7 separate regions of the Homo sapiens genome follow, and regions 1, 2, 3, 4, 5 and 6 are each linked to region 7. Evidence: promoter capture Hi-C in 16 types of primary human blood cells and fetal thymus (Javierre and others, 2016). All regions are on one chromosome and are shown on one strand. Each heading gives the region's core, a stretch centred on a gene start or on the middle of the fragment in contact. The rest is flanking DNA. Distances are from core to core; before and after follow the strand shown.

Evidence for each region. Contacts are between HindIII fragments. The CHiCAGO score rates a contact against its expected background, and 5 or more counts as called.
Region 1: a contact is called between a fragment that was not itself captured here and the fragment with the promoter of ARF4 in region 7, in 2 of 17 cell types (endothelial precursors and M1 macrophages). The highest score is 5.8, in endothelial precursors.
Region 2: a contact is called between a fragment that was not itself captured here and the fragment with the promoter of ARF4 in region 7, in 1 of 17 cell types (megakaryocytes). The highest score is 5.2, in megakaryocytes.
Region 3: a fragment that was not itself captured here is called in contact with the fragment with the promoter of ARF4 in region 7 in 1 of 17 cell types (naive B cells); the score reaches 5.4 in naive B cells.
Region 4: a fragment that was not itself captured here is called in contact with the fragment with the promoter of ARF4 in region 7 in 1 of 17 cell types (fetal thymus); the score reaches 5.0 in fetal thymus.
Region 5: a contact is called between a fragment that was not itself captured here and the fragment with the promoter of ARF4 in region 7, in 1 of 17 cell types (naive B cells). The highest score is 5.1, in naive B cells.
Region 6: a contact is called between a fragment that was not itself captured here and the fragment with the promoter of ARF4 in region 7, in 2 of 17 cell types (erythroblasts and endothelial precursors). The highest score is 6.9, in erythroblasts.

What each region holds. Positions count from the first base shown.
Region 1 is chr3:57,096,146-57,098,845 of GRCh38, forward strand. IL17RD (interleukin 17 receptor D) reads right to left here. Exons shown (of 13, transcript NM_017563.5): 12 at 1,451-2,393; 13 at 1-360. The coding sequence ends at 248. Among named protein-coding and RNA genes, the nearest start is that of SPATA12, 37 kb to the left of the region's middle. RefSeq lists an enhancer at 1,071-2,270. The HindIII fragment of the contact is 3,437 bases long and covers 1-2,700 here.
Region 2 is chr3:57,164,986-57,167,685 of GRCh38, forward strand. IL17RD (interleukin 17 receptor D) reads right to left here and starts at 368. Exons shown (of 13, transcript NM_017563.5): 1 at 176-368. The coding sequence starts at 301. RefSeq lists silencers at 147-486, 507-556. The HindIII fragment of the contact is 4,210 bases long and covers 1-2,700 here.
Region 3 is chr3:57,196,843-57,199,542 of GRCh38, forward strand. HESX1 (HESX homeobox 1) reads right to left here. Exons shown (of 4, transcript NM_003865.3): 2 at 1,911-2,110; 3 at 1,549-1,650; 4 at 996-1,453. The coding sequence ends at 1,355. Among named protein-coding and RNA genes, the nearest start is that of HESX1, 1.8 kb to the right of the region's middle. The HindIII fragment of the contact is 4,065 bases long and covers 1-2,700 here.
Region 4 is chr3:57,129,554-57,132,253 of GRCh38, forward strand. All of the region lies in intron 1 of IL17RD (interleukin 17 receptor D), which reads right to left. Among named protein-coding and RNA genes, the nearest start is that of IL17RD, 34 kb to the right of the region's middle. RefSeq lists a silencer at 1-122 and enhancers at 1-694, 695-1,520, 1,521-2,347. The HindIII fragment of the contact is 559 bases long and covers 1,011-1,569 here.
Region 5 is chr3:57,245,722-57,248,460 of GRCh38, forward strand. APPL1 (adaptor protein, phosphotyrosine interacting with PH domain and leucine zipper 1) reads left to right here. Exons shown (of 22, transcript NM_012096.3): 8 at 355-501; 9 at 1,674-1,756; 10 at 2,472-2,630. Among named protein-coding and RNA genes, the nearest start is that of APPL1, 19 kb to the left of the region's middle. The HindIII fragment of the contact is 1,551 bases long and covers 553-2,103 here.
Region 6 is chr3:57,863,731-57,866,430 of GRCh38, forward strand. SLMAP (sarcolemma associated protein) reads left to right here. Exons shown (of 25, transcript NM_001377540.1): 11 at 818-986; 12 at 1,077-1,127; 13 at 1,512-1,562. Among named protein-coding and RNA genes, the nearest start is that of SLMAP, 110 kb to the left of the region's middle. The HindIII fragment of the contact is 770 bases long and covers 934-1,703 here.
Region 7 is chr3:57,595,949-57,598,648 of GRCh38, forward strand. ARF4 (ARF GTPase 4) reads right to left here and starts at 1,396. Exons shown (of 6, transcript NM_001660.4): 1 at 1,126-1,396. The coding sequence starts at 1,192. It overlaps ARF4-AS1 (ARF4 antisense RNA 1), which reads left to right and starts at 1,841. Exons shown (of 2, transcript NR_132370.1): 1 at 1,841-2,103. It also overlaps a transcript of PDE12 not described here. RefSeq lists enhancers at 800-849, 870-1,019, 933-2,132, 1,008-1,713, 1,050-1,099 and 4 more. The HindIII fragment of the contact is 2,548 bases long and covers 408-2,700 here.

The DNA.
Region 1 (2,700 bases), core at 179-2,678, 500 kb before region 7:
GGCAAGCTGTTGTCAGACCTTATGGACATGCCTTTCAGAGCTCCATATCATTTTAGAAAATTGGAGAGTTTGTCAAGATATCCGGTAAAGGGTTGGGGCAAGGGAGAACAAGTACTGGCCAGCATTTCACTCCAAATATCCTTGTATGAGACCTCAGCTCCAAGTGGGCCATGCAACCAGGGAGATGAGCTGGGGAATCAGAGGGAGGCAGCAGCTAAAGTGGCAATGCTTAGACTCTTTCGTTTTGTTACAAAGGGGCGACCGCGTGGAGTTCATCAGTGTAGCTGCGGCAACCAAGATCTGCTTTGCATGACCCAGAAGAGAGGAGCTTGGAAGGAAGGGCAGGAGGTTCCTCCTCACCTAAGGAGAGAAGAGAGTACAGAGTCACACTGTCATTGCATTTCACTGGGCTGGGCAGGTGCTCATGGCAGAATGTGACTGGATCTGGGTTTGGACTATGGGCTCTGTATAAACGAGGCAAGAATCCCAACCAACTCAAGATGGGGCACTCTCATCCTCCTAACAGGTTCTAGTTCCCTTAGTTGAGGAAGGAAGAGATATTTCTTAAAAGTCAAGCGTTTAGGCCGGGCGCAGTGGCTCACGCCTGTAATCCCAGCACTTTGGGAGGCCGAGGTTGAGGGATCACTTGAGGTCAGGAGTTTGAGACCAGCCTGGCCAACATGGTGAAACCCAATCTCTACTAAAGATACAAAAATTTAGCTGGGCATGGTGGCGCATGCTTGTAATCCCAGCTATTCGGGAGGCTGGGCAGAAGAATCGCTTGAACCCAGGAGGCAGAGGTTGCAGTGAGCTGAGATCATGCCATTGCAGCCTGGGCGACAGGGTGAGACTCCATCTCAAAAAAAAAAAAAAAAAGTCAAGGGTTTGTATGCATGACTCCAACTAGTTACAGACATGGTAAGGGACAGCCTGAGATGGCATCTACCTGATGCTCCCTGCAGAAGTAGGCCTTCCTAGAGAGCCCTCATACCTGGGACCCTATGCTGAAGGATAGAAAGAATACTGTACCCATGAATCCCAGACTCAATGAATGTAGCTTTAAAGACAATGGGGGCGGGGGGTGTGAACATTACAGGTCTAAAAAAGACGCATCCACAAACTGTTACCCAAGACCCTTGGGGCCCAATGTGTTTTCGTGTCTGATGTTTTTGGAGTTTAGAAAAGTGATACAGTGCATAGTCTGTATGTGGCACAACACCCCTTGCAGGGTCTGGGCAGCTCACTATAATTTAGCATTAGTATTTCTGCAACTCAAACATGTGAGTACTCCCATCACCTGGTATAAATCAAGACTACCAAACGAGCTGTGTTCTCATCAGGTTTCATTGCCCAATAAGTTGGCACCAAAAGTGGAAAAACGCTTTGACTGATTTCAGAAGCATGGTCAAAGGCTGCGGCCTGTTAGGACCCGGCCCCAAAGGCACCTTACCCAGGCCTGAAGAGGAGGACACGCTCTCCGTCAGGGAAGACGTTTCTGTCTGGTCCGTCGAGAGTCCTTCCATCAGTGGCAGAGACAGCTCGGATGAGGGCACAGACGAGTCATAGATGCCTGAGTCCCGCGGCATGTCCGAGGGGCTGCCGGCTTTCACCGTGTGCAGCAGGGGTTGCAGGGCGGCGCTACCGTCAAGGGCAGGCCGGGCCTCCCCGTCTTGGTCCAGGCCCCCATGCTGACTCTCGTGCTGGGAGTCGGCTGGTCCGGTTGCCCCAAGAACAGCCGCCTCTACCTTTAGGCAGAAGTCACTCTCAGGCCCTGGTTTGCACATGACATCATTTAAAACCAAGCCCGAATCAAATTTCTCCAAGACTGGCTCCCGGTAGCGCAGTGGAGGAGGATGGAAGGGAACGAACTGCTTTTCGAACCAGTCGGGCTCCTCGTCAATAAACTGGTGCATGTTGCAAATGGCGACGTATAGGGACCGGCCTGACTTGCTCCGGAAGTAGTTCCTTCTGCTGCCCTGTCGCGTGTGCTGCCCCGGCTCCTGGAGGCCGTGGTCTCGGGAGTGCAAGTGGGAACAGAGCTGAGGAAGATTGTCCATGAGTCTGTACTTGGTACTCAGGTCTAGGATACCGGGGACGTCTCCCTCGCAGGAATAATCAAAGTAGACGGCGATAAACTTGCTGAGCGCCGCGGACGAACTCTGCTTGGCCTGGCGGAGCTTTTCGGCAATGGCTGACACCGCCACCAGGAAGAGCTCTCCTTTCCCCGAGCCTCGGCCACCTCCTTTGTGTTTGTAGTTCTTCTTGTCCACAAAGTACTTCATACCTTTGGAACAAACCACAATGATGAACTGGGACTCGTGGATCTTCTGGATGACCCATTCTCTCTGCCCTTCTCTACAGAGGCTGAAGTCTTCCCACAGGTCCAGAGCCACCTGGAAAGAGAACAAGGCACCTCACCCATACAGAAGGCTCGGGAAGAGGCTCGGGAAGTGAGTAACAGGAAGGGAAATGTCAGAAGGAGGCCATCTCATCTGCCCCTTAACCCTTATTAGCACAGCTATGTGCAGGCTCCAGGTTACACCATACCAAGGAACAGCTAAAGTTCCGTGGGTGATGGTCACACCCTAGTCCCTCTGCAAAAACTTGCCATCCATCCATTTTTGTATCACATGGAGTCATTACCACTCCTGCCCTACAAGTGAGGGGACAGAAGCGCAGTGCTTTTGGCACCTTGCCCAA
Region 2 (2,700 bases), core at 76-2,575, 430 kb before region 7:
ACACGCGTCCGGGGAGGGAAACCAGGAGGATGCGCGGGAGGAGTGAGACCCAGGCCGGCCGCGGACCCCGCGAAGAGCAGACAGGTTGGCGCGGGCTCGCCTCCCCGCGAGCACCTGTGCGCGCTGCGTCCCCCGCGAGTTGGCGACGGCAAGAAACCCGCCGCCCTCGCCTTACCCTCCAGCCACAGGTGTCGGCGCCCCGCGCGCGGCCGGACCCGCCAGCGGCCACAGCCAGCTGCGAGCCGTTGAGGCAGGCGTTGACCGTAAAGAAGACGGAGCAGAGCTGCAGCCACGGGGCCATGGCCGTGCGCTCGCCCAGCCAGGCCGTTCTCTGCGCCCCGGCCGCCCGCCGCTGGCCAGCCCCGAGTGGGCGGTGGCCGCGGCGGCCGCGGCGGCAGCGAAGGGGACCGCACTGGGCATGCGTTGCCAGCCCGGGCCCCGCCCCCACCCTCAGTCCTCGTGTGCTGGCCCCGCCCCCACAGCCTGGCCCTCCAGTTGTGGCCCTGCCCCCGTAGACCACGCCCCTCTGGTCACGCCCCCCAAGCCCCCACTGAGACTCTGGCAGCCGCAGTTTCTTCCCCCTCACTTAGTAGATCTTTTTTTAATCCAAAGGATTTGTCCAAGTGATGCTCACTCTATGCAAAACCTGAGGAAAACACAAAGAATGTAATAATAATAATTTTAATAATAATTTAATAAACACCTGCTATGTGCCAGACCCCTTTCTGTATACGCCCAACCACACAAGGAAGTGTATTATTGTTATCCCAGTTTTAGGCGCAGAAAAGTTAGGGGAACGTGACAGAGAAATCCTGGCTCCACATTTACTAGTAGGACTTTGGACAAAAGGCTTGCTGTCTCCACAATACTTCCTCACCACAACCCCCCGTCCCCCTCACCCTCCTGGAAGCTAGAATAAGTATCCTAGTCTGGGGAGAGTTCTGTTGGTTGAAACATAACAAGTGCTCCATAAAGGCTACAATCTATCATTAACTGACTCTCATAAGGTCACACAGCTGTTACCTGCCAGACCTGAGATCCAATCCAGACCTGACTAAAAACAATACTCTCAGCTACTACACTTGTCAAACATAACCTCATGAAGTGGATATTATTTCTGTTTGGAAGAGGAAACTGAGGCTCAGAGAAGTGGAGTAGCCCAAGCTATCCAGAGTTTCACCGCACTCTTCCCAGCGCTTTGCCTTTTATCTGAGCACCTAAACTCTCCCACTTTGTCCCTCTCCACTACCCCCTTCCTCAAGAATACCACCTCCTCTTCCTAAGGGCTTTTTCTACTTCTGACTTTGTCCCCGTGTCCGATACATTTCTCCAGCCTGGATCCAAAGTTATCTTCCAAAAACACAAATCAGACTACTGACTTATCCCAATTAAAACTCTAGGCTGAGTGCAGTGGCCAATCCTAGAGGATCGCTTGAGTTCAGGAGTTAGAGGTAACAGTGAGCTATGATCCTGCCAACCGCACTGAAGCCTGAGTGACACAGTAAGACCCTGTCTCTAAAAACAAACAAACAAACAAACAAACAAACAAACCTACCACCACCACCACCAACAAAAAAAAACAGTAAAATTATGTGTTCTGTGTTTGGAGGAGGATTAATAAAAATAAAATCAATAAATAAAACTGTTCTATGGTGGCTCTTATGCAAAGGCCATTTAGAATAAAATCCATACTGGCTTTCTCTTCCACTCTGTCTTTACCACCTGGCTCCTGCTGCACAGAACTCCCCCCAGCCCCAGCCTTATCTTGGTCTTTTTGCCTCAGGAAACCTTGGAAATTGTCACCTCCGTCCATTCAACAGGGCAGCCTCCTCTATATGACTCTCCTTCCAGGGCCCAGAATCCCCTCCCTCTCCTTCTCTGGCCTGGCCTAAGCTCAGCCACTGCTAACACAGGATTCCTGCACTTTCTCTTGTGGCTTGTGTCTCCACCACCCTGCCCACACGTCCTTGGAGGGCTTAAGTGGAGGAAGAGAACTCTTCTTGGTAATGCTAGCAGAAGTCTTGGGGATTTGCTTGGAAGTAGCTACATCTAGAACCAAGGAGTAGAGCCAGCCTCACCTGAACTTCAGGGGCTGGAAGTGTGAAACAGTGCTTGCCCAAAGGAACACTGACATTATTGCCAGGGAGAGGGAGAATGGGTGCTGGGTTCCCCAAACAACAGCATCCACCTCAAGACCCAGATGCTGGGCAGAATTTTTTTTTTTTTTACCTCACTGCCTGGAATTCAGGAATTCAGCCAGACCCAGTGAGGTTTACCATACCCTCTTCAGACACCAGAATAGCTAGGATCCACAGAAGGCTGTTCTGGAGTAGCCTTCTGTGAATAGACCTCAGGAAGCACATCACTCCTTTGGAGGAGCTGCTGGTTCAGTGCCTCCCTACCCTCCCTCACATTCTTGGTACTGTCCCTGGGTTGTTCTCAGCCCCCACAGCAAGGATGTCCAGCGTTTGGCCATGAGAGTCAGGGGTGCCAGGGGCTGAGATGAGGCCAGGACCATATGGGTTTTGGTGAAACAGGGAGGAAACAATGAGGCGACCAGCTCCTTAATCTATGTGACATTCCAGCCTATACATGCTTTATAACTTATTAAACAACCCCATGCTAAGGGACATCTGTTAGAATCAGTGATTCAAAAATACCCTAACACACTTACCTTGACACATTGATTCAATGATTTTA
Region 3 (2,700 bases), core at 167-2,666, 400 kb before region 7:
AAAGTCAGAGTCTTAAGCTGACATTTCAAAAAAAAAAAAAAAAAAAAAAAACCACCCACTGAAGTCTTCCATTAACTGGAAAACAAATGCCCAGATTTCCAGCCGAGAGGGCTCCCTTCTTGTTATATATCTTATCCTATTCTCATCTTTTTTTTTTTTTTTTTTTTTTTTGAGACGGAGTCTCGCTCTGTCGCCCAGGCTGGAGTGCAGTGGCGCGATCTCGGCTCACGGCAAGCTCCGCCTCCCGGGTTCACGTCATTCTCCTTCCTCAGCCTCCGGAGTAGCTGCGACTACAGGCGCCCGCCACCGCGCCCAGCTAATTTTTTGTATTTTTTTAGTAGAGACGGGGTTTCACCGTGTTCTCGATCTCCTGACCTCGTGATACGCCCGCCTCGGCCTCCCAAAGTGTTGGGATTACAGGCGTGAGCCACCGCGCCCAGCCCCCCATCTTTAATTGGCAGGTAAAATGGGAAAATGGGAAATGAAAACACATAGTTTTTGTTACTTAGAAAGCACCTTGATTATTTCCAGTGACTATGTCAGAGCACTTACAAAAGGTGGGTCAGTTATCCTACCTTCTCAGTCAACTTAATATTGCAGTTGATTAGAAATCATTTAAACTGGAAATAGATATAAGCTACATGATCACTATCACTAATGAATGAAAGTAAAGTACAAAATTAAACTAGAAAACTATTTAAAATTTTGCATTTATTTGCTGCTTACTTCTTTTGTGCAATTCAATACCAATGGTATAAATATGATAGCTGATGCTTGTATATTTCTACTTTGGCATAATGACTTTGCTTGGAAAAAAAACTTGAAACTAACATACTGTAAGAATTTGTTCTGATAAATGGTGAGAAATTCTCACTGCTTTATGCTATAAATCAAGAGAAGTTGAAGATTCATGAATAAATCATAATTTATAATATAGTGAAGCATAATTATGTTTCAAAATGTGCATGGAAGAAACTAATGAAAACAACTCACACTTTTGTTCTTCAGATTATTTTACTTGAAATACTTTATAATTAGAATCCAGCTTGTGGAATCACTTAGTCATGAGTCTATTGATTTTAACAAACTAATTTATTAGATTAATTTGGCTTACTTAAAAAATAGCAATCTTTTCTGAAAATGTTTATTAAAATATATATAAAAGGTCTTTACTATAACTAAAAGTGCCCAAATATGTACCATGCTATAATAGTATTTACAATATATTTTCAGAAAAAATGACAATATTCAGATTAAATGCAGGAAAGAAAACATCACATTTTAACACTTAATATTTCCACTGATTCTTCATGCTCTGCAATTAGAAGATAATTTCACTTGTTTAGTTTTCTATCTATTCCAGCAGATTTGTGTTGAAATTTTTTTTCGCCATTAGAAACTGTGATTCTCTATGGGACCTTTTCAGTTTTGCACGCCGATTTTGAAACCAAATCTAAAGTTAAGGAAAAATAAAATAGGTCTCAGAAACATTATTTTATTATTCTTAACATTTCAACATCATGAATAACAACTAAATTTGAAAATTACCTGGATTCTGTCTTCCTCTAGATTCAATTTTTGAGCTAAGTCTTCTCTAATATCGATACCAGGATAGCAGTTTACTCTAAAGACATTTTCTAACACTTCAATCTAAGAAAAAAAAATGTTGATATTCAGTATGTCTCCAAAAATGAGCTTTAATTTCTAGAGTAAAATGACTACATTTAAATCTTGGCAATTAATCTGGATGCCTTTTTAAAAATGATTACCTGGAAATTGTTAAAATATGGTAGTCTACTGTTTCATTAATAAGGCTTCTAAACTGAGATACCAAAGTGAGTGGGCTTTTGCTCAACTTGGTGTCAATTAAAGCCTTTATATTATCATTATTGGGTGAAAAAACTTCCCACCTGGTTTTGAGTAAAAGCAGTTCTTGGTCTTCGGCCTCTATACCAACTCAACTCTCTTTTCAAAGACAGTCTTTCTGAGGCTGAAAAGTAATTTTCATATTTCGAAGCTCTTTCTTCTGGCATTGGGTGATCCACCACGCTAGGGAATGAAATCCCACTGGGAGGATTTGGGACATGTAGACATAAGTTACCATCTTTCCCTAAAAACAAAAAAATAAGCCCTGTCTTAGATGGTCAATCTTATGTTCCACAAAGTTCTATAGAGGTAGTTTCAGGAACTCATCTTTCATTTCCTAGTGGAATTCTGGGGTTCACAAGAGAATTGCACCCCGTTAACCAAAAACCAATAAAAAATGAAGATCCTGTCTTGGTAATCCTGCCTCTTTGGTCTCTGAATGTCGTTTATTTTTCAGTGAAAAGAGATTTCAAATATCTGATGTGTCAAACAGGGAGAGATCTTCTGAAGTAAATGCAGGTTCTTGGGATTTCCTGTGAGTGAATTTATCCACTTTGCTCAATCCAAAGCTGATATTCTTTTAATTTCCCATAGGACTCAGTTGGAGGCATTAAAAGTCCTAGACTCTGGCTGGGCGTGGTGGGTCATGCCTGTAATCCTAACACTTTGGGAGGCTGAGGCAGGCGGATCACCTGAGGTCAGGAGTTCGAGACTAGCCTGACCAACAGGGTGAAACCCCCCTCTACTAAAAAATACAAAAATTAGCAGGCCATGGTGGTGCATGCCTGTAATCCCAGCTACTTGGCAGGCTGAGGCAGGAGAATCGTTTGAACC
Region 4 (2,700 bases), core at 40-2,539, 470 kb before region 7:
ACAGCACAAATGCCTATAGAAATGGGGGATTGTGACGTTGCCATGGGGACCCAGCCTCCTCCACCCCAACAGGTCCCCGGCAAGCCCCACGCACATTTCCTTCAAGGTGGATTTCGCATATTTGGAAATTATGGAAGGCCATCATTTTAGGTTTCAGTGTTAATGGAAATATTACAGGACATGCTAGAAAGCAAGGCAACCCCTTCTGTCAGCCGATTAAGTCTGTCCACATGGTGGTCTCGGACAGAAAAACCTTAAAATAACAGTGGGAAGCAGTAAGTCAGCATTAGGCCCTTTTTCAAAATGTGTGGCTTTCCCCCACTTTCTCTAGGAAGGAGACAGGCTTCAAGCATCCTTTTAAATGCCCCTGTTCTCTAGCTGCAAAAATCCAAGTGAGTCAACCTGTGCTCAAAACTGCCTGCCATTAGTAGCCCACCTCAGGCTCCAGGTAGCCTTACCCTTGCTGAACTGAACCTCTAATCCCACCCTGCAGGGCTACTGGCCAAGGCAGGGTGTATTTGCTTTTAATTACTGATGACCCTGTTTTTGTTAAGAGGAAAAGTTTACTAGAACCTTTGGAGAATCCTGTGAAAAATAATCCTTACCCAATTTCCCCCAGAAACTTTTCATACACAATTTTGGGAGGTTCCCAGAGCTCATGAAGGCCACCCAAGGGCCTCTGAGGGGTTCACAGGCCCCCAGGTCCAAAGCCATGTTTAGACACAAAAAATCCCAAGACCCCACTCAGAAATCAAAGGGTGCATCTTGGCTTTGCCAGTTCCCTGGGATGCAGACCCTCCAACTACCTCTCCAGGTGTGAATTCAAATAGCAATATATAAAATATCCACACATATACCATAACCACCCTTGGGTGACCCCAGCTGGTTCTCTCTGTCCTCCAGGAGTGAATATTCTCCCATTCATTCTGACTAGAATGTTCTAAGCTAAAGCCAGAGTGACCCTTCTAATAAGTATCTGCCTCTCTCTGCAAGGTCTGGCCTTTCCCAGAAGCTTTCTGGGGGAGAGGGAAGTAGTCAGCCCAGAGGTGAAGCCACAGTCACCAAGCTCTGACGGGCAGATGGGAGGAGAAACAGGAGTAAAGCCTCCTGTTTCACGGCCCTGCCCGGCCCAGGGGTGACACTCACGGTGTTACCTCCTGATCAAACCATTTCCATCTAGTCTCTTAGATAGCAAGTCCTGAAACATCCCCCTGAGATGCAGTCAGGGTTTCTGAATGCCTTTGAGTGTGTGTGTTGTCAGTATGTGTGCCCAGCCACAAAGCCAACAACAACAACAAAAAAGCACCAGGAAGTCAGCAGTGCCGGCTCCAGGTGTTAACACTTAGCGCATCCTGCCCAGCCCCCACCAGCTTGAGGCCAGCCGCCTGGGAGCCGGACACAGCAATTAGACCCTTCCCAGGCCAGGCGCCTTTGTCCCCTCGCTAACATCATTAGTGTCTGACTTCCTGTGCACAACGGGGCCTCCCGGGGGGCAATCACCGGCTGACCGGGGCAAGGCATTAGACTTCCTTTGTCAAAGACCCTTAAATGTTAACAAGCATGTGAACAAGCTTCCCCTCCCCCACCCCCTCCTACCTCAGCTGTTCCTCCAGCCCACCACTCTCAACTGTCTTGATTCTCCCCAAGCTGTGGGAATCCCAGTTACTTGGGAGAAATATCAAGTCTCAATGTTGGGCGAGCAGCACTGCCTTTCTACAGAAAGAGCCTCCAAACCTGATTTCCTAGAACCTTTCAGTATAAGCATGCAACTCACACTCGCTGAGTGCCCACTGGTTACAAAATACCACCGTCCTGCCTTAAGAAGGGTGAAACAAAGAAAGGTGAAAGTATTCAGCCAACAGGAGTCCCAGGCTGTGCCACACCCAGCCCAATGCCCATCAACCACAGGTGCACTCTGTTCATGTGTTCATGGACTGAAGTACAAAGTTTGGCCTCAAGATGCAAGGACTTTGAAGGTTTGAGTGATATCCTGAGGCCTTCAGAAAAACACTGGTGAGATCTGAAAACGGGGTGAGTGTGAGTTGCTATACAGCTGCAATCCTACCGTCATCCCTCTCTTGGCAATACTATCACCACCAAGGCCAAAATCACTTTGCTCTCATTTACCCCTCATTACCAAGACTCACAGCTTTTTATTTGGGGGAGAACTGTGGTGCATGTGTGCACACACATTGGCACATGGTATTTTCAGGAGGCTTCTGGACCCCTGAAGCCCCCAGACCTCTCACCTGCCTTATAGTCCAGCTCCACTCAATAGCTTGATAGCTTAAAGCTACGTCTGTTGAATAATAGAGAGTGGTTTTACTTCGGTGATTAAAAACAAAATTCAGGCCAGCCATGGTGGCTCACACCTGTAATCCCAGCATTTTGGGAGGCGGAGGCCAGCGGATTGCTTGAGCTCAGGAGTTTAAGACCAGCCTGGGCAAAACGGTGAAACCCATTCTACAAAAAGTACAAAAATATTAGCCAGACATGGTGGTACACACCTGTGGTCCCAGCTACTTGGGAGGCTGAGGCAGGGGGATCGCTTGAGCCAAGGAGGTTGTGACCGTAGTGAGCCGAGATCACACCACCACACTCCAGACTGGGTGACAGAGCAAGACACTGTAAAAGAAGGGGCGGGCGCAGCGGCTCACATTTGTAATCCCAGCATTTTGGGAGGCCGAAGTTGGGGGATCA
Region 5 (2,739 bases), core at 78-2,577, 350 kb before region 7:
TTTTTAATAGAGTCGGTTTCACCATGTTGGCCAGGCTGTTCTTAAACTCCTGACCTCAAGTGATCGTCCCGCCTCGGCCTCCCAAAGTGCTGGGATTACAGGCATGAGCCACCACGCCTGGGCTCAATGTGCATTTTGTAAATTATGTGGTTGGAAGTTAAACAGGAAAATTTGCTTAACCAGTATGTTGAAGGATTTCTAAAAGATCAGAAAACAGGAACATTAATGCTCAATTGCTTGTGATACTCAATTCCTTGGGTAGGCTCTTCTCCACAGCTCCTACTGAAGATAATACAAAATTAAGTAAATAATAGCAGATTATTTACTTAATTATTTAAATCTTTTCATTCAAAGGTGAAGTATGAAGTAACAGAAGATGTGTACACATCCAGAAAGAAACAACACCAGACCATGATGCATTATTTTTGTGCATTAAATACTCTTCAGTACAAGAAGAAAATAGCATTGTTAGAACCTCTACTTGGGTACATGCAAGCTCAGGTAAATACTGTACTGTATTTGGATTATAACTGTCCTAAAAGTTTTATATTAAGCTTGATATTTACATTAAGTATAAGGGTATTATAAACTATTTTCAACATCCTTGTTTATGTCTGTGTTTTAAGAAGTTATTTTTAAAATGTCATCAGACTATTATTTTAAGGAAGTTAGGAAGAATGGTTTTCCTTGCAAATGAAGATTTCAAATATTTTAGGTAAATGAAACCACTTGTTCACCATAGCTGGGGACTGAGAGAACTAAATGAATTTCAGAGTTACACCTATTGCTAGAGCTTCAACTAAACACTTGCTTCATAATAGATCTGAAAAAGAATAAACAAGTTTGAGTTTATCCCATATTCCTTGCATACTTCCTGAGTTAAAAATAATAGATGAACTCCAACGTGCCCAAAGAGTACATCAGGAAGGGGGCTAGAAAATTTGGGTAGTATAAGACAAAGTGTCAGTCTCCTAAAAATCAAGAGTTTAAAGAAAATTGAGGGCAGGCACGGTGCCTTATGCCTATAATCGAGCACTTTGGTAGGCCGAGGTAGGAGGATCATTTGAGTCCAGGAGTTTGAGACTAGCCTCAGCAACGTAGGGAGACCCCATCTCTACAAAAAATGAAAAAATTAGCTGGGCTTGGTAGCATGCCTCGGTGATCCCAGCAACTTGGGAGGCTGAAATGGAAGGATCCCTTGAGCCTAGGAGGCTGAGGCTGCAGTGAGGTTTTATTGTGCAGTCTGGATGACAGACGAGACCCTGTCTCAAAAAAAAAAAAAAAAATTGAATCTATTTAGGTAAAAGAGTACTTTACTGATTATTCCTCAGATAGAAAACTTATCTTTGTAGTAAACATGAAATACTTTATATAATTTATTGGAAATACTTTAAAATTTATTTTCCAATTTTAAAAGATTGTTAACCATATGTATATATTACTTGTTCCAATTCAAAAAATATAAAAGGATATGCAGTGGAATTTAAGTCTAACTTCCTTAATGGCTCCCTGTGCAGTAGAAGTCACAAACTACAATGTATTTTTACACAAATGGGAATATTCCTTTGTTTTTTACTTAACCATGTGTCTTAGAGATTGTTTATATGATTTACTTTAAGTATTGCTTAATCTATTTTTGTATTGTTCAATTCCCCCCACTCCCCACTCTCCAGATAAGTTTCTTTAAGATGGGTTCTGAAAATCTTAATGAACAACTGGAAGAATTTTTAGCTAATATTGGAACAAGCGTTCAGAAGTAAGTATTTTTTTCCTTAAAATTGAAAATGAAATGATGTGAATGATAACAGCTCAATGACATAATGTAAAGATATTTATCATTTACTTTCCTGAGGGAATATTTTCCCTGCCATGAGAGTTTCTTATGTGGTTCATGGTTACTTCTTGTTTTTTTTTAACCTCTTTTTTCCACAGATTGTGAACTTTGAATTTCATAATAGTGATAATTTTATTGATTCTACACTCAGTTTTATGTCTGAATATAACAGACACATAATAGTAACTCCCCATAAGTGAAATTATCTTTAAACTTGAAATTGTGGGAGTTTGATGGGAGATTACTAAATATTGTTTCCAAGCCATGAAAGCTTAGAGAGAAAGCAGTTCTTATCAGGTTCAAAATGCCGAGCAGTGTATGTGGTCAGTCCACGGTATGGAGAGAGATGAAAGTGATTGTTGTTTTAAAGGCACAGGGCAGAACAGTTTGAAAATTACGCCAAAATCAGGCATTCGGGGGGCTTCATTTGTTTTTTGAATTTAGTATTGTTTCCAAAATATCTAAGTTTCAAATAAACTGTAAACCTGTTTTAAAATATATTCGTGTTGTTTTAACCACCCATGCCGCTCTTCCTCTCTTTAAGAAAACATACCCGAAACAAATATGCAGGTAAACATGATTGGTAAGGAGTTCTTTATTGGTTGTGATTTGTAGCAAATAATCTGTTCTGTGTCAGTGTTCGCAGGGAAATGGACAGTGATATAGAGACCATGCAACAGACAATAGAGGATTTGGAAGTAGCCAGTGATCCCTTATATGTGCCTGACCCAGACCCCACCAAATTTCCTGTTAATCGAAATTTAACCCGAAAGGCTGGATACCTTAATGCTAGGAAGTAAGAAAACTATTGTTATTTTTGTATATTGTGTATCATGTAAGACAATACCAAATGAATATAGTAAATAATTGATGTCTGTCATATTTTGATTTTTATTAAAGGTTGA
Region 6 (2,700 bases), core at 69-2,568, 270 kb after region 7:
AACACCTCTCATTAGACCCCATCTCCAACACTGAGGATCAAATTTCAACATTGAGGCTTGGGGGACGAACATCCAAACTATAGGCAGAGAGGTCTTTTTGAATAGTGATTGTACTGTCATCTCGTTACTAAATAATTTTGTTTAAAATTTCAGAATGTTAACATGATAGAACTTCAAAATTGAAATGATAGTAATTTTAGGGAAAAATCTTACTTCCCTCTTTAAAAATACGATTTTTTTTTCCACATTGACCCTTTACCTCTGTGTGTACTGAGCCTACTTGCTTCCTCCAAGTTTCTCTCTCCTGGGTGTTATGGAGGAATAACCCAATGCAGATAATTTTTGACATCAAGCCTTTGTCTTTATCATCTTTACTGGTTTAGAAATGTCAGGTTAGCCGGGCGCAGTGGCTCATGCCTGTAATCCCAGCACTTTGGGAGGCCAAGGTGGGCTGATCATCTGAGGTCAGGCGTTCGAGACCAGCCTGACCAACATGGAGAAACCCCGTCTCTTCTAAAAATACAAAATTAGCTGGGTATGGTGGCGCATGCCTGTAATCCCAGCTACTTGGGAGGCTGAGGCAGGAGAATCACTCGAACCCGGGAGGCGGAGGTTGCCTAGGCAACAAGAGTGAAACTCCATCTCAAAAAAAAAAAGAAAGAAAGAAATGTCAGGTTTACAGATAATGTTCTGTAGAACATTTCTTTTCTACAGAACAAACTTTTCTTAGAAGTTTAAGTGAATAAAGGCATTCCTGGGGCTCGCTCTTAAAACAGAGTTAGGTTTGTTAAATAACTGAATTTTCTTATTTTTCTAGGTAGCAGAGGGAAAACAAGAGGAAATCCAACAGAAGGGACAGGCTGAGAAAAAAGAATTACAACATAAAATAGATGAAATGGAAGAAAAAGAACAGGAGCTCCAGGCAAAAATAGAAGCTTTGCAAGCTGATAATGATTTCACCAATGAAAGGCTAACAGCTTTACAAGGTAAGTAGCTAATCCAGAAATTGATTTTATTTTATTTTTTTTCTTGTTATCTGTGAAATATCTTTTTTTTTTTTGGACTTTTATTTACAGTACGGTTAGAACATCTTCAGGAGAAAACTCTTAAAGAATGCAGCAGCTTGGGTAGGTGGCATCCATATTTCTTACTTAAACCTGAATTTTATCCTTAAACTTTTGACCTTGTTTACTGTCTCACACTGCATTTTTTAAGGGATGTTTTATGTATTAGGTATAAAGTATCTATATTCTTTTAGAAAATTTTCTTTAAAAATATGCTTGATTGCCACCAGTGGGCACCATTGTTTTCCTTGAGATGAGTGAAATTTCTGCTCTGAGATCTTCTACCTCGGGATATTTAAATAAGAAAAGTACATGAACAGCAGGATCCCTTTTAAAGTGTTCTATACAATCTTAATCTTAGGAATGCAGAATGCCATGGTTACACTTGAGACCACATTTAAAGTAATACTTCTTTGATCAGGCAATGATATACTGTCTTAATCCTAGGGATACAAGTTGATGACTTCTTACCTAAAATAAATGGGAGCACAGAAAAAGGTAGTGTAAAAAACTTAAATATATATATACTTTTTATGATATCATTTTAGTATTTAAGCAGGATAAGGAGTTCAGGGTTTTAAGTGTTTGGAATGAAAAGCATGCTCTCACAGATCATTGAACCCCATCATTTAAAAATCAAGCTTTCCTTTATTTTGTAAGAGTTGATGCTGTGATCAATTCTTAGATATCCCTTGTTATATGGAAATTTCAATTACTCAAATCAGAAAATTATTAAGTTCACCTTTAGCAATATATAATATAGATCTTTTTCCCCACTCTGTTTTTCGAAGAGCTGTACTACCATTTTGTTTCATCAAGTTCTGCCTCCAGTGATACTTGACCCCCATTTAAAACATTCGAGTTTATTTAACAGCTTATTGAGCCCTTGGACATATCATAGAAACTACTTTGTTTATCCATCTGTTTCATTGATCAGAGAGAACAGGGTCAGTTTTTTCTGCCATCAGAAAAATCTTTTATTAGTTGTTGGTTCTGTGACCCTTCTTTCTGGACAGCGTGGGTTCTCTCTTGCCAAAAACATATAGCCACTATTGGTTTTCCTGTCACTACACGGGGTACTTTTTACCCAGTGACCTCTATTATCCTTCAGTCTTGAAGATCCCTAGTCATTCTCCTTCTCTCCCCTTCCATCTAACATTAATTGAGCACCAACTATGTGCCAGACCCTGCGCTAGGTGCTTGGAGTACAGTAGAAATTAAACTCTTTTCTGTGTTTACCAATCTATGTGCCTTTCATCTCAGTTTTCTACAGAAGTTAGTCGAAGATATCAGAGTTGATACCCAGAACTTATTAAATATTTTTTCCCTTAGCCAGGCATTGTGGTGTGCGCCTGTAGTCCCAACTACGTGGGAGGCTGAGGTGGGAGGGTCAGCTGAGCCCAGGAGGTTGAGGCAGCAGTGAGCCATAATTGTGCCACTGCACTCCAGCCTGGGTGACGAGCAAGGCCCTGTCTTTAAAAAAGAAAAGAAAAGAAAAGAAAAGACAAAATATTTTTTCCATGTATCAAGGGATATCATAATAGTTCTTGGGCAGCAATCAAACTGGTAGAGTTAGGAGGTGGGTTTTTTGGTTCTTTTTTGGTTTGGTTTTGTTTGGTCAGGTTTTAATCAAGAG
Region 7 (2,700 bases), core at 146-2,645:
CTGCAAAAAAAAAAAAGGAAGAGAAAAATAAAACCTCCTCCGGTAGAAAACAAGCTAATGAACCAACAAGTTTCAACGTTCAAAGTTAGAGGGGCTTCTTTCAGCGTTATTCTAGTCCATGGAGCTCAGCTGTGATGTAGACTGCTTACAGTAACCGGGAGCGGTTGCTTACTTCAGCCAACTGACAGCCCTTCTCCCTCAGCTGAGCAAAAACACGCCCCCTAAAAAGTAGTTTTTAAAAAGTCAACTTTCTAAAAAGAAATTTTAAAAAAATTGTAGTTACTATTTAACAAGACTACCATAAAATTCAGCGTCATGATGTTCAGTTACTTGAAAATTTATCAGGTATTTTTTAAAAATTCGTTTCTAAAATTTTTTTGCATTAGACCTTAGACCGCCTAAAAATAAGCTTAAAAACCTAGGAGAATAAACCAAACACATTTAAAGTTTTTGAAAATAGTCAAAGAAATAGAAGATAAGCTCAGTTTTCGGAGAATGAGATTAACAAGGAGCGAAAAACTTGAAACGGAATCCAGCGCAAGGCCAAGTTTAGCAAAGTGAGCGCTGAAGGACTCCAGACTCTTCGGAAACCTTGGGTGCTCCCTGGCCACCGCAACTTCCTGCCCCGGGCGGCTCCAGGCTCCGGGTGGCCGCTGGCTTACATACCAATGGAGTATGCAGGGACTGTACACGAAACGCAGAAGGGGAGGGAAAAGGCTGGAGTTGCTCTGCCTCCCTCCTGACCGCTGTCCACACCCGGGCAAGAAGGTATGCAGATCGCACCCCCAGAAAGGGCCTCGCCAAGTGTTTGCTTCCCAGAGTTGGCTTTCCCCACATCTCTGCCCAATGTTGTCCAGCTTTCAATAAGATCAAGGAGAAAAAGCCGAGTCCAGAAAGAAATCTTGCCCGAAGCCCTGTCCCTGTCTCGTCTGGCGACAGATCGGGGGCGGGGGGGATCGCTCACCCTCCGCTCCATTGTTCCCCCTTAAGAATTCCTTCCGACCCCCGACCCGGCGCCCCTCCCCCACCACAGCGGGCGGAGGAAAAAAACAGGCCCAGAGGCCACCCCAATTGTGGAGACCCTGCCTTTCCCAGGTCCCGCCTGACTCGCAGCCCCTCACTCACCCATCAAAATGCGCATCTGCTTCTTGCCAAATAGTCGGGAGAAGAGGGAGGAGATAGTGAGGCCCATGGCGGTAGTGGCACTTGTGATGGGCAGAAGCAGAAGGGGTTTGGGGCGACCCCGTGCTTTCTCCTTTCAAGCTCCCAGGCAAACTAAACGAGAGGGAAGAGAAAGAGCGGAGGAAGAAAGAGGGAGGCAGAAACGTCTCAGTGGCCCCTGTGCCGATGAAGATCCGGCACAGGAATAAGCCGGTAGAGGACCTGCTAGGCGACTGGCGCGGCAGCTCCGGCTCTAGCCTTTAGGCTCTGGCTGTGCCACGTCACGCGGCGGCCGCGGCGACTCCAGCAGCGGCCCGGCCCCTCCAACGCGGACAGAATCGCGTCACCGCCGCCCCATCCCCCTGCGCTTCCGGTGCGCCCGAGCCACTGCGCTTGCGCCTGCAGGGGATTGGCCAGTTTCGCTGACGAGCATCTCTCGACGGCGCCACCGCCCGGACGTGGCCCCAGGAGCCGGGAGAGGCCGGCTGAGGCACATGCGTACTGGGAGACGGACAAAGTCCCACAATACCTCGCTTCGTCACTGCCAAATCAGACTCAGGGTGAGACGCTTCCGCCCGGATGAAGGTATTGTCGGGGTGATAGTCCTTGCTTCCGGAAAGGCGAGCTGAGCATTATGGGTTAGGTGAGGAACCTCGCCCTCTTCTATTACGGTACGCGCGATGGGTATTCCCTGATGCCATGAACTTACACGTTTCACACACGGGACCAGACGCTTGCTTTAGTTGACGCATGAAGACCGGTCCGGTCTTTTGCGGAGAAAAGTGGTTAAAAGCTGACTTGTGGGCCGAGAAACTGTGGCACCCTAATGAGCTAGGGCTAGACGCTTCGACCACCACGCCAAGTGATTCTGAAGATCTCTAATTCTGTCAAGGCGAGAGCGCTCCAACACGTGTTCATCGGCTGTTGCTTTTTAAAGAGAAGGCAAGGAGGAAGTCTTGCTTTTCTTGTACTTTTTTTCCTAGAAGCAGCATTAAAGATTTACTCCTTATGTTGAGGAAGCGGAAAGCCTCTTCACTTTAAAAGTGTTTATGATCGGGCCTGGCGCGGTGACTCACCGCGCCCGGCCTGCTACACCTTTTAAAATTCACAGCAATGATAAATGTATTAGACTCATTGCCAGGATAAAGATTTAATCTATTTTTCTAGTAGTGCCGTCCTATGTGGTTCTGTAGTTGCTTATTCCAACTGGTATATTTCCATAGGATGGGGTTGAATAAGAAAAACTTGCAAACTTTCAGAAACAGTAAGTTATTTTTATATTTTTGAAGGCTTGCTGAGTAACGCTTCTCTTGGTAGCACTACCTTATCTACCCTTCAGAGACTGTTATTTCTTAGGAGTGGCCCTGGGCAATTAAAAGCAAAAACTTCTGGCCGGGCATAGTGGCTCATGCCTGTAATCCCAGCACTTTGGGAGGCCGAGGCGGGCAGATTACGAGGTCAGGAGATCGAGACCATCCTGGCTAACACGGTGAAACCCAGTCTCTACTAAAAATAGAATAAATTAACCGGGCGTGGTGG